Linked DNA regions of Homo sapiens: regions 1, 2, 3, 4 and 6 are each linked to region 5. Evidence: promoter capture Hi-C in 16 types of primary human blood cells and fetal thymus (Javierre and others, 2016). All regions are on one chromosome and are shown on one strand. The core of a region is centred on a gene start or on the middle of the fragment in contact, and the rest is flanking DNA. Distances in the headings are between cores, read along the strand shown. Region 1 has its middle 14 kb from the start of POU2AF2. Region 2 has its middle 2.0 kb from the start of POU2AF1. Region 3 overlaps POU2AF2 (POU class 2 homeobox associating factor 2). Region 4 has its middle 41 kb from the start of POU2AF1. Region 5 holds the start of FDX1 (ferredoxin 1). Region 6 overlaps POU2AF2 (POU class 2 homeobox associating factor 2).

Evidence for each region. Contacts are between HindIII fragments. The CHiCAGO score rates a contact against its expected background, and 5 or more counts as called.
Region 1: a fragment that was not itself captured here is called in contact with the fragment with the promoter of FDX1 in region 5 in 12 of 17 cell types (total CD4 T cells, naive CD4 T cells, fetal thymus and 9 more); the score reaches 13.8 in total CD4 T cells.
Region 2: a contact is called between a fragment that was not itself captured here and the fragment with the promoter of FDX1 in region 5, in 4 of 17 cell types (naive B cells, naive CD8 T cells, activated CD4 T cells and 1 more). The highest score is 5.8, in naive B cells.
Region 3: a fragment that was not itself captured here is called in contact with the fragment with the promoter of FDX1 in region 5 in 1 of 17 cell types (total B cells); the score reaches 5.5 in total B cells.
Region 4: a fragment that was not itself captured here is called in contact with the fragment with the promoter of FDX1 in region 5 in 3 of 17 cell types (total B cells, naive B cells and fetal thymus); the score reaches 8.5 in total B cells.
Region 6: a contact is called between a fragment that was not itself captured here and the fragment with the promoter of FDX1 in region 5, in 1 of 17 cell types (naive B cells). The highest score is 7.2, in naive B cells.

What each region holds. Positions count from the first base shown.
Region 1 is chr11:111,230,448-111,233,147 of GRCh38, reverse strand. No RefSeq gene overlaps it. Among named protein-coding and RNA genes, the nearest start is that of POU2AF2, 14 kb to the left of the region's middle. The HindIII fragment of the contact is 5,671 bases long and covers 1-2,700 here.
Region 2 is chr11:111,379,887-111,382,586 of GRCh38, reverse strand. No RefSeq gene overlaps it. Among named protein-coding and RNA genes, the nearest start is that of POU2AF1, 2.0 kb to the right of the region's middle. RefSeq lists enhancers at 2,156-2,375, 2,596-2,685. The HindIII fragment of the contact is 2,378 bases long and covers 165-2,542 here.
Region 3 is chr11:111,280,134-111,282,833 of GRCh38, reverse strand. It overlaps POU2AF2 (POU class 2 homeobox associating factor 2), which reads right to left. Exons shown (of 5, transcript NM_198498.3): 3 at 1,394-1,436. Among named protein-coding and RNA genes, the nearest start is that of POU2AF3, 17 kb to the left of the region's middle. The HindIII fragment of the contact is 337 bases long and covers 1,181-1,517 here.
Region 4 is chr11:111,418,655-111,421,354 of GRCh38, reverse strand. It overlaps a transcript of BTG4 not described here. Among named protein-coding and RNA genes, the nearest start is that of POU2AF1, 41 kb to the right of the region's middle. The HindIII fragment of the contact is 1,460 bases long and covers 530-1,989 here.
Region 5 is chr11:110,428,690-110,431,389 of GRCh38, reverse strand. It overlaps FDX1 (ferredoxin 1), which reads right to left and starts at 1,442. Exons shown (of 4, transcript NM_004109.5): 1 at 1,085-1,442. The coding sequence starts at 1,269. RefSeq lists an enhancer at 629-908 and a silencer at 979-1,628. The HindIII fragment of the contact is 8,631 bases long and covers 1-2,700 here.
Region 6 is chr11:111,250,916-111,253,615 of GRCh38, reverse strand. The region is part of intron 1 of POU2AF2 (POU class 2 homeobox associating factor 2); the gene reads right to left. Among named protein-coding and RNA genes, the nearest start is that of POU2AF2, 6.5 kb to the right of the region's middle. The HindIII fragment of the contact is 3,728 bases long and covers 1-2,700 here.

The DNA.
Region 1 (2,700 bases), core at 194-2,693, 800 kb before region 5:
AAAAATAAAAACCAATTAGCCAGATATGGTGGCATGTGCCTGTAGTCCCAGCTACTTGGGAGGCTGAGGCAGGAGGATTCCCTGAGCCTAGGAGTTTGCTGCAGTGAACCATGATTGCACCACTGCACACCAGACTAGGTGATAGAGTGAGATCCTGACTCAAAGAAAAAATGAAGGCCAGGCACAGTGGCTCATGCCTGCAATCCCAGCACCTTGGAAGGCCAAGGTGGGCGGACCGTGAGGCCAAGAGATCGAGACCATCCTGGCCAACACGGTGAAACCAATGTACCACATTTTCTTTATCCAATTTATCATTGATGGACATTTAGGAGCATTTCTATATATATTTTAATCCTCAAACTTTGGTTCATACTGTTTTCTCCACTGGTAACATTTTCTTCTGTTGTTTACTAAAATTTTATTTATCCTTCAAATCTTATCTTATACACATGTCCTCTGTGAAGACTTTCCTGTTGTCCCTGAACTGAAGGTGATTCCTTCCTCATTTGATCCCTGCAGATCTCTCTATTGTATTTGTTTTTCTTCTCTCAACTGTACTTATTCCTTTACTTGCTTTGTGTTCCCATTAGATCTTGAGTTCTGAGAAGGCTGAACTACCTATCTCCTGTAAAATGTGACCCAGAACCTTTTAAATAGTAAGTGCTCAAATATTTACTGAACATAGGGAAATTCTCTGAAAGGTGGTGAGGAAATAAAATGGAAGAGTCACTGAATGACTGAGTCCAGAAAAATAGCTTGATATTTTTCTGAACTGTAACATGAGAGATAAATAAACTTTATTTTGAAGACACTGTAACTCAGGGCCTGTTACAGCAGTTTAGCCTTTCAGGCATATACAATTGGAAACACGACTATGTTAAGTATGTTATGACATAAATACATCACTAATATAGACATAGGAAGGCTCATTCATTCATTGATCCCTGGGGATGATCAGTTCTGTATGATAAATAAATAAAGACCCAAGGGAGATCCCTTTAGCCTACATAAGTTTAGGGAGCTCTTCAATGGCCTGAGCTTTTGCAATAAGGAGAAACAGCAGTCTGGCAGCTGTGGCAGGAATCTGAGATCAAGTGGAGAGGCTCCTGACACGACTCTGACCAGCAAAACCATCTGACCGCTAGTGAGACTGAGCCCTGAGCTCAGCTTAGAACAAAAGGTGAAGTCACACTTCACTCAAGGATAGAGTCAACATTAAAAAGTGAAAATAAAGGTGAGTCAAAATAGAAAAGAGAGAACGGGGCAGGGGAGCCTGAAACTTTAGGGAGCTGAGTTACAGAGGCTAAAGGAAAGGTGAAGGAGTGAGTTGCAGTGTCAGTCCTGATATGCCCGAAGGGCAAGTCCTTGATGGTCAAATAGAAGAAATGCCATCCTCTGCCTTGGTCTGAATACTGAGGGGTTGCTGGGGCTGGGGTGCCTGGAGAGCAGATGTAACAAAGCCCAGGGGCAGAGAGAAACATCTAGAGTATCATTCTTAGAAAACATAACAGAATATCAATGCCTGCAGGGTCAAGGGTTCCATCACACCTTGCACGCTGCTAACCTGAACAGACTTGGGACCAAATCTGTACAGACTGACCATCATTCAACCTGGCATAAATTGACACTAAACTTGGCCACTTCCTGAATCTGATTTTGTCTGTTTTCCACCTCTCCTGTCTGATCCTTTGAATGCTTGAAATTTCCCCATCTCCCCAGGTTTCTAGAGGTGGAGTGAGGGAGCCCAATCAGCTGCCTAGTTTCCTGAGGTTGGACCCTGGCACAAACCCTTCTTATCAACCATCCTGAATTGACTTCACCAGTTGACAGCCTCATCTGCACCTGACACCAATGTATGAACATTGCTCAGAGTTCTAGAAGCTGTATTTAAACCTCTCCCCTCAGACTGAATCTCCTATCTGCCCTCCTTTCCCTAACTCTCCTTATTCACATGCCTAATCTAGACTACAGTTCTTTTGGGGGTGTTGAAATCCATTGACCTGACCTACTAACCTCCCTCACATAAAAGTTCTTGACCCTGGCCGGGCGCGGTGGCTGACGCCTGTAATCTCAGCACTTTGAAAGGCTGAGGTGGGCGGATCACCTGAGGTCGGGAGTTCGAGACCCCTGGCCAACATGGCGAAACCCCGTCTCTACTAAAAATACAAACATTGGTCAGATGTGGTGGCACGAGCCTATAGTCCCAGCTACTCGGGAAGCTGAGGCAGGAGAATCGCTTGAACCCGGGAGGCGGAGGTTGCAGTGAGCCCAGATCGGGCCATTGCACTCCAGCCTTGGCAACAAGAGCGAAACTCCGTCTCAAAACAAAACAAACAAACAAAAACAAAAAAACCCGAACAACAACATAATAGTTCTTGACCAGGCTGGCATAAAAAGGACATCTTTTAATGATGCGTAGCTGTAGGCTAGAGGGGAATGCAGAAAGGAGGCTTTGAGCATGAGTAGTTTTTGCTTTCGATTCCCTTTTCCTGCCTTGGGCGATCACGATTTCCCCTCTTGCCTCCTTTCACCAGGGACATTCATTTGGGAGTATTTTCAGTTTAAGCCACTAGGTGGTGCCTCAACCCTATCCGCAGCTCGCCAAAAGGGCTTGCCCCGGCAGCTGGGCAAGAGCGAGGATTTTTTTGGGAACTGCAGTGACCTGGAAGGAAGGTACTCTTTTCTTCCTGAAAATCGCGG
Region 2 (2,700 bases), core at 104-2,603, 950 kb before region 5:
TGTCTACATCAATGTGGATAGATCTTACAACACTGTGCTGAATTAAAAAATAAGAAACAGCGTGAAATGTGTAATATAACATCACCTACATAAATTAAAAATCTATACATGCCAAACAATACAGATCTTATAAGAACAGGCACAAATGTCTACAAATAAAAGCTTCAGCATCAACCACTGAAAAGAGTTGCCCTGATTGGAATGGTGGGTGGGTGATGGGGGTATGAGGGGACAGGAAAAAGAATAGACATGGAAAATGAGGGGGAAAGTAGATGAATGAATAAATAAATTACTGAGCAAAATAAGATAGGGGCTTTTCATAAATCAAAAATGATGAGAATGAAGATGATTAAAGGCTAAATGAAAAGAAAAGATTAAGACTTGGCAGAGGTAATGACATGTAATAAGCACTCTGTAAATATTTATTAAATGATGGAAGAAATGAAGTCGATGGTGAATCTTTTTGCAAAGCTAAAATTTATTTCACAATATGAATCAGTGCGCTTTAATAAATTATTTTAGAAGTTTTGATGTTTGTATATCAGATTCTTTAAAAATGTGAGCACACCTGTATTTGGAGTCATCTGGACCATGTTCACAGATTTTTTCTTCTTTTCTTCCACTTCTTGAGACATTGCATAAACATAGTCGCCTCTTTTGAACTATGCCATGCAGTTTGACTTTTGATTCTAAGTCACAGAAAATGTTTTCCTGGAAAATATTTGCTGTTTCGATCAAGTCTTGATTCCAAAGCATCTGCCTGTATGTGGTCACTGATATGCAGGGTATTTGCTGGAAGAAATGAGCTGGAATCTGCCTCATGAGCTGTGAGGCCATAAGAGGTGATGGGTTTATCGCTGGCCATGATGGTGGGCTTGCCCACTGACATTTTGTTTTTCTGCCACTGTACAAGATCTGATTTGTCAGAGTAGCTCTGGGTCTCACCTTTTCCTTCCCTCTTTCCAGAGGACAGAAATTTATTCCGGGGGATATAGCTTCTGTTGATCTGCTTCAGGTTTTAATAATAATGATCCTATATTACTACTAACAAACATGGCTGACACTTGGCATTTACTGCTTTCAACTTAATAAATATCTTTTATTTTAATGATTTAGAGCTCTGGCTCTAGTCAGATGAACTTGGGTCTGGCACCAGCCTATAACCTGATAGCTTGGTGACATTGGACAGATGAAATTCCCTAAGCATTTGTTTGTTTCTCTGAACAATACAGGTAGACGTTTCCTTGCAGCGTTGTTGTGGTGACTAGATTAGGTAATGTATTTAAGGCTTAACATGGAGCCTCTTGCACAGTAAGTGGTTATATTATTACTTTGTGGAAATCATCATGCTAGGCCTGTGGGGAGAAACTGAGATGAATAAGAAAAAGTTCTGAATTTCACGGACTTGGAGAGAATAAGACATGACCAAAAGAGACAAAAGACAGACCCGTGGGAGAGAGGACCAGCGAGGCCACATATCCTCCTACGAACCTGTGAGACACTCACAGAACTGGTTCTTCATTTTATAGATGAGGAAACTGAGGCTAGAAGAGTTATGTGACTTGTTGAAGGGGACACAGTGAGTGAGTGTCAGAGCCTTCATGGGAACCCACGTCTCCTGTGACTGAGGCAGGCCTGAGGGATGTGCCTCTGTTTCTCATGGAAACTCCTTGGCGCAGCCCAAGGCCTTGAGATGCTGCCCCCTGCCAGGCCAGGGTGTGGGCTGCCAGCCACCACAGCATGGGGGCCTCCACTGTCCTGAACTTCAGAGGCTTTGCGGGGAGGGCTTATAGGCAGCCAGGAGACAGCCTTCTCTGGCTTTTAAGTGAATCATTTATAAAATGTTGACAGCATTTCTCCTCAAGACCTGCCCTCAAATCAGCAACCGATTAGAGACAGTAATTCATAACTTTATCAGATGAATTTTTATTGGGGGTCACTATGCTCCAGGTCTTGTGTGGGGCACTGGAGAGGCAAAGATGAAACCTCCTTGAGAAACTGTCAGAGTCATGTGACAATTCACCATCACATAATGAACAAAGTGCTCTAAGATCTGAGAAGACGAACAAGTATTCTCTGGGCTGGGGGTTTGTCCTTCCGGCAAGAGAGGACGGCAAGGTCAAAGGCAGGGAATTGCATGGGTGTTTGGTGGTGCTTAGAGGGCACTGGGACCAGTGGTAGGAGGGCAGTTGGTGGTGAGGCTGGAAAGGAAGGCAACGGCTCGATTGTGGGAGGCCTTCTAGGCCTCCAGCTCTGTGGCTGAAGGGAGAAGGTGAATGCTTTGTAGGCTAGGGGATAGCATGATCAGGTCTAGGTGGTGCAAGATGGCTCTGAGGCAGTATGGATGGCAGAGCAGCAAGGCCCCACACCTGCTCTAGGGGGTGTGCCAAGGGGTCTTGACCCCAAACTGACTGAGTCCCTGGAGCCTGAGCATGTGGACCTCAGATATGCAGTGGCAGAAGGCTTCCAAACTGTGAAGGAACCGGTAGCCAACACCATCTACACTTCCAGATGGTGAGCCCATGACTTACTTAAAGAAGCTTCCTGTTATCAGTGGGTGGGCACTCGCAAAGAGGCTCTGTTCATCTTGTGCCTACAAGCCCAGATCCAGTCAAAGAGCACGGGCATGTTCTCCTTCCTTCCTTGAGGGTTGGCCTCTTTTTCCGTGGGCATAGCCGACATCAGAGCCAGCGCCCCCAT
Region 3 (2,700 bases), core at 100-2,599, 850 kb before region 5:
TGGGTGTGATCTAATGCTAACACCAACACCCTTAGGTCATAGGTCACAAAAAGGCTGAACTGGGGAGAAGATATAAGTGCCTGTCTTCCTTACCTTACCCCAACCACAGCAGCAGACCACTTCTGAGCTTCTGATTCTATAGACACAGAATTCCAGCCCGTTCCACAGGATGTGGCACTTTATATTATGCTCATTCCTCTTTCACCTGAGTCACAATGATCTTTCCAGTCAACCTGCGAGCCCAAGGGGGCAGATCTCATGCCTTATACATTTTCTTTAAACCTAGTAGTATAACATTGTGTTCAAGAATGGCATGTGAATTTATTCATCCAGAAGAAGAAATCAAAATTCCCCATCAAAACCTGTGGCACGACTCCACTCACTTCACTTTCATCTTACATTCTATAACTTCTAACCTGCTCATGCATTTGAAAGCTGAAGTTAGGGTTTTCATTATAAGCATACTTCCTTGGGAAAAAATCTGTGCAGCTGAACCTTAATATAAATAAATAAGGTTCTGTTTCATACAATGAAATTATATTTATGAGAGCGGTTAAGGTTGAGAATATGAAAACAAGGTTTCCAGGCTCTCATCTATACTCCCAATTTCCAAATCAAAACAACCACGAAGAAAAAAGCCTCTGCTCTCTTAGCATGGATTTTCTCTGTACAAAGAGAAAGGATAATTTCTAGATAAAGAGAAGCTATGGAAATTTTTCTTTTTTTTTTCTGTAGAAGGCAGGAGATGCCACCAAATTTCAATGGCACTATATATGATTGGGAAACAACATACAGACATTTAAATATTCGGGATCCTCGATTGCTCTTATTCCTTTCCCTTATCCAGCTCTGAAGGTGATAAAACTATTAGGGAATGTGCCGCGTCTGAGTTGAACTAAATGAGATTGTCTTTGCCTGTGTGGTGTGTGTTTATACAAGAATGTCCAACAGTATTATTAGGAATTCCCCTTTTACATCCCCACAGGAGTATTTAATGAGACATAGGCATTGAAATGAATTCAAAATACTGAACCAAATGCCTGACTCCCTCTGCTCGCAGACGGCTTTCCCCTTTCTGTTTGAAAGCAGATGCCTCATCTATCAGATCATGGTGTCAGAACTTTAGACAATTTAAAACTGTATCAAGGGCATAATTTATATTGCCTTTGCCCCAAAAGCTTGGGATAAAAGGGCTGCTTTCAAGACAAAATGAATTTTAAATTCAGAAATTACTGCATGAGTTCTGTCCTTCGCTGATTTTGTATTTTAGACAAAACTATTTTAAAGGAGCAGAGTTTTGGAAGTGTTGTAAGGTCGTTATGAAAGAATGGAAGCCCAGATGCTTGATTTAAATTCAAAAGGGAATAATTGCTTATTGAATTAAAGTACTCACCTGGCATCTGCACAAATGGAGACTGAGAGGAACTGACGCTGCCCTGGAAGGTAAACAGAATTCAAGTGTTTTCTTTAGTTGTAAGTTTGAATTTAATAAAAATTAGGAATACACCTTATAAGCTTGGTTTTATGATATTCAGAAGTATTATCTGGGGAGTTGGGTTGACCCTCAGGTCAACTGAGAATAAGAATTCAAGTACCATAGAACAAAGTTTTACAAGGGACAAAGAGCAACCACACTTTTACATTTTGATAAACATGCCAGAAAGCACTGGCTGGATGAAATGTAGTAATTTATCCTTCATCTTCTACTGTTCCAGTTAACATTCCCTCATCCAATATATATTAAGTGACTATATATACGCATATCCAGTAGCCTCCCCTTACCCACGAGGGATATGTTCCAAGACTCCCCAGTGGGTTCCTAAAACTGAGGATAGCACCACACCTGATTGCCATCATGTCCTCCACCCACAAACTCAATGCCTTTTCCATCTTAGCTAAGAATTTATCATGCATTGTGGCCACAGTTTTGCAGTTCGAGGTGCAACAGCAAAACTCGCATGAATTTCTTTCGCCTTCTTCACAATTTCACAGACAAAAGATTTGTTCTTACCATACCAATGTCTGACCTCAGCATACATTTTTTTTCTTTCCTTATTAAGTTGAGAACGTTTACTTTTTCATTTAAAGGAAGCACATTCCGGCTTCTCTTTGGCATATCTAAATTGCCAGTGTCACTACTCTTGTGCTTTCGGGCCATTGTGAAATACAATAAGGGTGACTTGAACACAAGCACTGCCATACAGAGACAGGTGATCCAATCACTGAGTCGGCTACTGAGACACTAACGGGCAGGTGGTGTAGACAGTGTGGATTGGCTGGACAAAGGTAAGATTCAAGTCCTGGGCAGCACAGAGTGGGACTGAATGAAATTTCATCACACCACTGAGAAAGGCATGCCATTTAAGATCTAGAAATTGTTTATTTCTGGAATTTCGCATTTAGTATGTTCAGACTGCAGTTAACCATGAGTAGCTGAAACCTCAGAAAGGGAAACCATGGCTAAGGGGCGCCTACTGTATGTGTGTATGTGCATACATGCACTTAGTGTTTGGCTTCAGCACTGAAGGGCCACTTCAATGTTTACTGTCTGAATCCATGTGGAGGAAGAAGCTCCACCAACTGTAGGGACCTTGACTGTGATGTGCCCTCAGTGCCTAGAACAGGGTGTAGTTCATAATAGACGTAAGAAAAATATGTGGAATGAAGACACAATCTTCAAAGAACCCACAGGCTAGAGAG
Region 4 (2,700 bases), core at 10-2,509, 990 kb before region 5:
ACACAAAGCCAGGTCTCCTCCTTTGTATGGAGGCAACATTAGGTAAAGGGGAGGGCTGAATGCTCAGGTCAGCATAGCTAATTATGCCATCTCATCCTCCCCCAAGCCCTTCTATGGCTCTGGCTGCTCTTAGAGATAAAAACCCTTTAGATAGTCTACGAGGCCCTATATGAGGTGCCCTCTCTGAGAGCTAGGCTCTTGAGATCCATTGCACACCAATCTCTGGACTCCAGCCACTTGGGACCTTGGTTCCTTGATTCTGTCACGCTCTCTCCAGCCTTAAGGCCTTTGCATAAGTTACTCCTTTTTCCTGGCATGTTCTTTCCCATCCCTATCCCATCCTTTTTTCTAGGTAATTTACTCTCACCTTTTAGGGACTAGCCTAGGTGTCCCTTTCCCAAAGGAGCCTTCTGGGACCTCCAAGATTGTGTTCCATCATGTACTCTCAAAGTCCTTGGTAGCACTTATTACAATTATTAGTGTTTTGAATTGTATAATTGATTCATTTTTCTCTGCTAGAATGTAAGCTTCATGAGGGTAAGGCCTGTTAGTTTATTTTTTTATCCTGTCAACCACTCAGCATAATGCTTGGCACAAATTAGGTGCTCAATAAAAATGTGTTGAATGAATGCATGAATGAACGGGGTCACCAGGTTGCTACTGCAATCCCTCTGGCATTCTACTAGACAAACTGTGTCTCAAACTGTTGAATGCTGTTTCTTGTTCTTACCCATTACAGGGGAGAACCACAGGTGGGCAAAGTAGCTCTACATACAGCTCCTGTGACTTTTGAGGCTTAACTCTTGTGAGATGATCATGGTCTCATCTCCCCCTGTTTTATCTCCCCCAGAGTCTCTGCTAAGGCAGAGTCCACACCCTACCATGCCCACTGCCTTCTTCCTCCTGATCCTTGGTCTTTTGGTCTTTGTGTAAAAAATGTGGCTTTCTCCAGGCAAAGCCCAGAATGCCACCTGGTCCAAGGAGGATTGTTGGCTATGATCTCCTCAGTTTCACTTCCAGAGCTGGCTGCTCAGATTGGTCTACCCTGCTGTGGATGCAATTTCAGGATGAGGTTGAAGAGCAGGTCATCTGGACTGCTGGGATGATTTTAAAGGAAACTTTAATATCTCCTGGACAAGCCAGCAGCTGGTGTCTGCAAGTCCTCCAGGACTTTGCACCTTGAGACTTGGATTCAGGGGCAGCTGAGAAGATAGACTGTGAACTTTCCTTTGCCGAGAGAACTGGACTACAGCTTAATGGCTGGACCCTAGGCATCTCTAGGACACTACAGTTGTCCATTGTAGATTCCTTTACCTCAAGCCACTTCTGGACCTGCCTGTCCTTGGGTGCCTGGTGCTGAGTCAGCAACACCTCCCTCCTGTCTTGGCAATGTGTGGCCAAACTAAGCCAAGTCTGATTATAATGGGTTGGTTCATCTAGAAGCTCACATCCCGTACTCTTTTTCCAATATGGCACTTAGCCAACTGGCACCCAATAGTGAAGAGTGACTCTGGGAACTGAGGCTGCTGAGGACTCATGACCCTGCAGAAGCCAACAGCAAAAGCTGTGTGGAGGGTGAAGCCATCCCGCTGCCAGGCCTCTCTCTCTGCTCCATGTCAGTTCCTGTCTGGCAGCGCCATGGCCTTGGCTGGCAGTCAGAGACCCGCTGCTGGTACTTGCTGGTGGCTTGGCTCTCTTCCATCTAGCCAGGGCATTTGGACCTTTTTTCTATGTTCTGCTTATGAGCTTGGGAAGCGAGCCAGTGGTTCTCCTTGGAAGTTGCCTCCATCCTTGTCATTTCCCACCCTAGTCCCAAGGGAGACATGTTTCTTTCTCTCTTCCGTATTGACACCTTCTCTTGCCTTTGGCTCAAATACAGACACCTCAGGTAGCACCAGTGCTGTGGGGAGGCCAAGGGGCGAGGGGCACGTACAGGAAGTGGTGGTGGCAAAATAGAGTTAAGTTCGGTTACCAGTGCTGGATGAAGCTTTGTATCTCTAGGGTTGTCAGTCAGCCAAGAAGGAAGGCAGTTACAGGCCTAATTCTTGGTTCCTGAACTGATTGGCTGTAGCTTTTATCAGGGACTCACTGGCACTTCTCTGAGCATCAGTGTTAACTTCTGTCATGGGCTGAATTGTGCAGCCTCCTTCTTCTCCTCCAAGTTTATAGGTTGACTTCCTAATCCCCAGTACCTCAGGATATGACTCTATTTGGAGATAAGGTCTTTAAGGAGGTTATTTAGGTAAAATGAGGTCATATGAGTAGGCCCTAATCCAATATGACTGGTGTCCTTATGAGAAGAGATTAGGACACAGATAGGTATAGAGGGAAGACCATATGAAGACAAAGAGAGAAGGCGGCCATCTGGAAGCCAAGGAGAGGAGCTCCCAGAAGAAACAACCCCGCTGACACCTTGACCTTGGACTTGCAGTCTCCACAATGGTGAGGAAGTAAATTTCTGTTCTTTAAGCCATCCAGTCAGTACTTTGTTTTGGCAGCCCTAGTGAACTAAAACAAACTCCTGCAGACGTGGCAGAGAGGGTTTGCAGAAGGGCCAAGAGAACGGTGGCTTAGATGCTTCCGGTTTTCCCAGCTTCTTCATGGACTCTCAAGGTTGGTGGTATCCCTTTGGCTTCTCTAGTTCTTTCTGCTTCAGGGAGCTACCAACCTCCTCTGGTTTTGGTGGTTAGCCTAAGTAGC
Region 5 (2,700 bases), core at 193-2,692:
ACACTCTCCCTCTAGTTCTCGATTCCTGCTACCCTACATCATGCGGTCAAAGAGCTGTCGAGAGATCTGCATTATATAAATCGCCACCATGTTGGTAAAAATTATGTGTAAATTGTATCTCTAGTATATCTAAGGAGTGTCTTTGAAAAACAAATATGCCCAAGAACCTAAAACTTCAACACATTTGGGATAAATTGTCACATTTCTTTCAATATTTAATACAAAACTCTCTTAACATTGTGAACCTAAGAAGCTGCTGCTGCTGCTGCTGCTGCTGCTGCTGCTGCTACCAAGTGGCATCTACTGAGCCCTCATTACGTGCTAGGCACAAGACTACCTGTATCGCTGTATTAACTCATTGATTCTTCAATTAACCATAGGAGGTCTACACTGTTATTATATCCAACTTGCAAATGGAGAAACTGGGTTCCTAAGGACTGACCAAGTTAGGCACGTCAGACAATCAGTGCCAAAGCCAAGTTTCAAGTCCCGGCAGATTACTTCAACGCAGGGGCTTTCAACACTTGAGCAACTAGCAAAGGGCCTACAGGGCAGCAGAGGGTATGGGCTGGGTGTATTCTACCTGGACACCCCCTGACAAAGACCTGGGACCTGGGTGTCCTCTCAAAGCAGGGCAAGGCCCTGAAAAAAACAGCTGGCAGGTGTGTCAGGCCAGGACAGCAGGAGGGAAGCCTGTCGCGAAGGTCACTGCCAGTTTCGGGCAGAGCAAAGGTCAGATCCCAGACAAATCACACGGAGAACAAGCAGCAGCAAAGTCCCGGCTTTCCTCAGGGCACGGGAAGCGCTGGGAAAGGGAGCTGGGCGTCCAGGGTCCCCGATTCCCGCCGGGAGTGGGTGATGCGGAAAGGAACTCTGCGGTGCGACGGAAGGGAGGCAGCGACGCCACCGAGCAGCGAGACGGAGCCGCGAGAGCACCCCAGAAGAGGGGGGCGAGAGGCAGGCCTCCGGGGTGTGGGCCCGGCGCGCAGAAGGCACTGGAACCAGAGACTCGGCCCAGAGAGCCAGGCGCCACCCACCGGGGACCCCGGCCCGCGCCGGCGATCGCGCCCGCACGGCGCCCTACCTGCTCCGGGCCCGCGCCGACACGCTCAGCGACCGGCTCGCCTCCGCGCTCCCGCCCGGCCCCCGGTTCCTCAGCAGGCCGCTGGATCCAGCGCGGGACCCAGCGTGGTGCAGCCACCGGCCGGCCGGGCCGCCGAGGACAGCAGAAGCGGCGCGCAGCAGCCGGGCGCCCCCAGCGGCAGCCATCGCCCGCGGTCGGGAACTGCCGGAAGCGACGCAGGCCGCGCTTTGAGGCCGCGAGAGACTCCAAAGAGGCGGGGGCGGCAGCTGCGGCGCAGACGCCCGAGGGCCGCGGCGAGGGGCGCGGGGCTGGAGTGGCGGAGAGACCCTGCTGGAAGCACCGCGCCGAGGTTCCGCGTGCCTTCCGGGTGACCTATAAAGACATTGGCAAGCAGAGCGCGGCCCCGCCCCGCCTCTCACGCCCACGCCGCCCGGTCCCATGGGGCGGGGCCAGCGCAGGGGGCCTTTACCAACCCTCCAGGTTCCGTTGTAAGCTGGATGCTTTTTTAGCGGCTGAAGTTGCCGTGCAGAAACAAAATATTTTGAAAGATAGCTGGACGTCTAGCGGAAATCGGTTAGCTAGACCACTGTGTTCTGTTCCGCATACCCCCATCCCCTAGCCGTTAAAAAAAAAACTGGGAAATTGTGTCATCTTGGAGTCAAGTTAGAGCAAAGTGAATTCTGCCCACTGTAAAACAAAAACAGTGGGAAATTTTGGAAAATCTCAGAATGCTATTATACAAAGAAATAATTATGACTATAAAATTGTAAATGAAATTAATGAATAGGCTTGGGGCTCCTGCAGAGGACAGGTAGCCATCCTAGACCTTGACTGGCAAGTAAATGCTGGCTGAGTACATGAAACCCACGAGACTGAACCGGAAACTTTGTGATGAGCTGAGATCTCTAAAAGACTTTCACAAAAAACAGAAAAGATGAACTTTAAAATACACCTTATCATGGTTCATATGTTGTGGGAAATGCATGGGCTTTAAGGTCAGAAATAGCAATGTTCAGATCCAAGATCTACTGCTTTAGAGATCTGAGACCTTGGAAAAATTATTCTCATGGAGGATCAGAGTTTCCATAACTCTCAAACACAGATAAGATGTTCCAGCCTTCAGGGCCATTCTGATGTTAATCTAATACGCAATGCACACCGTGCGTCACAAACCAGGAAGGCTACCGCTTCCTGGGCCTTCCTCCATCAGGGTACTCATAAAGAGGCTAAAGGCCAAAGTCAAGGGGATATTGCAGATATGCTAAACACAATCAGATACTTTTTTTTTCTTTTTTTGACATGGGGTCTCTCTATTCTGCCCAGGCTGTAGTGCAGTGGCGAAATCTCGGCTCACTGCAACCTCCGCCTCCCAGGTTCAAGTGATTCTCCTGCCTCAGCCTCCCGAGTAGCTAGGACTACAGGCGTGTGCCACCACACGCCACTAATTTTTGAAGATTCAGAACAAGAAAGTGTAAGCATGAGTAAAGTATCTGCGGACAATGTATGGTGCTTTCTGGAACCCAATGGCAGAGAGAAGGCAGTGGCTCCTAATTGCCTCAAATCGTTGGATGAAGAGAAAGTCTTTCAAGCTGCGAAGGGCACAGCAAACCCTGACA
Region 6 (2,700 bases), core at 3-2,502, 820 kb before region 5:
AGATCAGTCAGGAGGGTTCTAGAATAATCCAGGCAAGAGCTGATGGGGACTGAGTAGTGGTGGATGGGAGGGCAAGGATCAGACAGGTTTGAACATTATTTAAACATGAGAGAGAAGAAGATTCAAGGGTGAATCTCAAGTTTCCACCATGGAATTGCTCTCAGTACATAAGTTTCAGAACCATCGTGATGTGGATGGTAATGAAACCAAGAAAGAGGATGAAATCCCTTGGGGGAGTGATTGAAAGATAAAGTCACATGGTGGCACACATAGAAAAGAATAATGAGCACCTGGCATACTGGGGTAAACAGGTCAGGCTACTTCCAAGAGCTAAGAGGATCAGTATCTTTGGAATGCCTATAACACTGATTTCTGACACACAGGTTTGGAAGCTGTGGACTAAATGATTAAAGATGGAAGCCTGGGGAACAGTGACATTTGAATGGTTGTCAGAGGAGGAGAGGAGAACCCTATGAAGAAGATAAGGGAAGACTAATTGGAGAAGAAACAGGAAAAACCAGGGGAATAAAGCATCCTAGAATTCTGGGGAAGAGATTTCAAGAAAGAAATTAAAAAAAATCAGAGGCAACAGAGTAGTTCAGGAAGATAAAGACAGAAAAACATCTCTTACTTTCAATTCAGTGGTTGGCATTGAGCTTACCAAGAATAACTCAGAAGTGCGGGGTGGCTGGAAGCCAGACAATAATGTCAATGGAGGAGGTAGACACAGGAAGGGGAGACTATTTCTTCTTGAAGTTTGAATGAGAAAGGGAAACAAGAGATTGAGTGATAATTAGAGAGAATTATGGTGTCAAGGAGAGGTTTGCTTATGTTCTTATATCTATTTATGCATTTATGAGTGGGAGAGAGTTGAAAATATTTGAAGAGGACAGAGGGAAGACTAATGGCTTAGAAGAGAGGGACAGAATGATGGAAAGAGGTCTTGAAAAGGCAGAAAGAAATTAAGGTCAAGGGCACAAATTGACCCTCAACTTCTGAGACTGAAATACAGAAAGTCAGGGTGTGGGCGGGGTGGTGGTATGGCCAGTTACTACGACCGCTCTAGTGCACATCAAGCAGGCTGGCATAGGAGAGCAATTCAAAACTGGGCAGAACCAGGCAGGGGTCAAAGCCAGACAGACAAGTCAAAGAATATACGTCGGTGATTCTCAAATGTGATCCCTGGACCAGCAGCATCAGCATTGTCTAGGAACTTGCTAGAAATGCAAATTCGCCGACCCTACTCCAAATGTACCGAATCAGAAACCCTAGGGTGGGGCCTAGCCTTCCAGGTGATTCTGATGCTCTCTGACGTTGGAGAACCACAGATATACATATGAGTAAGGCCTTTAGAAGGTTCCTGTGGAGGTGGGGTGGTCAACTCTAATCTACGCAGTCCTGGCTGAGCAAGAGGGGGAGTATCTGACTGACTGAGGTCGATGTGGACTTAGACAACTCTGGGAAGGAGGAGGGCCTGGGAATTGAGGAGGTCCAGGCTGGATCCTTTGTATATTTGCAGACTGTCTCTACTTTGCTTTTTAAAGTGCTTTTTAATTGATGATTTTTATCTGAATTAGCAATCTATACTTTATGTGTATGCCAAAAAGCCTAGGGGAAATACACCTATTCTAAATAAGTTTAACAAATAACCACATGGTGATTAATAGAGGAATAAAGTTCATGAGATGGCAAATATCCAGATCAAAACTTCTGAAGTTTTGTCATAAAACAATCAGTCTTATGTACCAGTTGGCACTGACTTAGTGCAAAGCACGGGGCTATATGCCACAGGGGATGCAAAATAACTTTAGAACATATAGCAGATGTCCTCAAAGAGATCTTATTTTAGTGAGAGAAATCAGACATTCACATGTGAAAGAGCAGGGGAGGGGGAAGAGTACACTTTGGATTGTTGATGAAAGTTTTGTGGGAAGGGATGGGACTTAAGCTGGAATGAGAAGCATGTGGACAGGTTAGGAGGAAGGAGAATGACCTTGTAGACAGCAGGCATCTGTGAGCAAGAACAAAGAGACAGGAAGCAGAAAAGATGTGTGCAGTGGTAAGGAATGAGTACAATTGGAGATACTAGATTTAAATGCCATATAGATGTAATCGAGTTTCAAATGGGTATCTCCAGCCCAGACGTGGACTTCAGTCTTGGATATCCATTTATGATTGGATGTCTAGTAGACATCTCAAACTCCACACATCCAAATATGAACTCCATTCTTCCTTTCCACATTTGTTTTATCTGAAACTTTTCCTATCTCAGTTGATGGCAGCCTGTCTTTGTGGTGACTGAGTCCTGAAGCTGTAGAGTCATTCTAGGCTCCTCTGTCTCATCTTTCACAGCCTATTCTTTAGCAATTCCTGATGGTGCTACCTACAAAATACATCCAGAGTCTGCTGACTTTTCTTTACTCTTCTGATAATATCCAGGCTCCATCCAGGGCAATTTCTACAGTAATGTAGATTACTGTGGCAGCCTTCCAACTGTTTTTCCTGCTTCCACATCCACCCTGCCCTAGTCTAGTTTCAACACAGTAGACAGGATGATCCTTTGAAAACGCAAGTTCAATTGTGTCCCTGATCTGCTCTAAACCCTACAATGGTCCACCATGACGCTCACAGGAAGAACCAAAGTCCTCATAATGGCTTTACATGACCCTGTTCCCTGAAACAGGGTTTCATCTCCTAAGA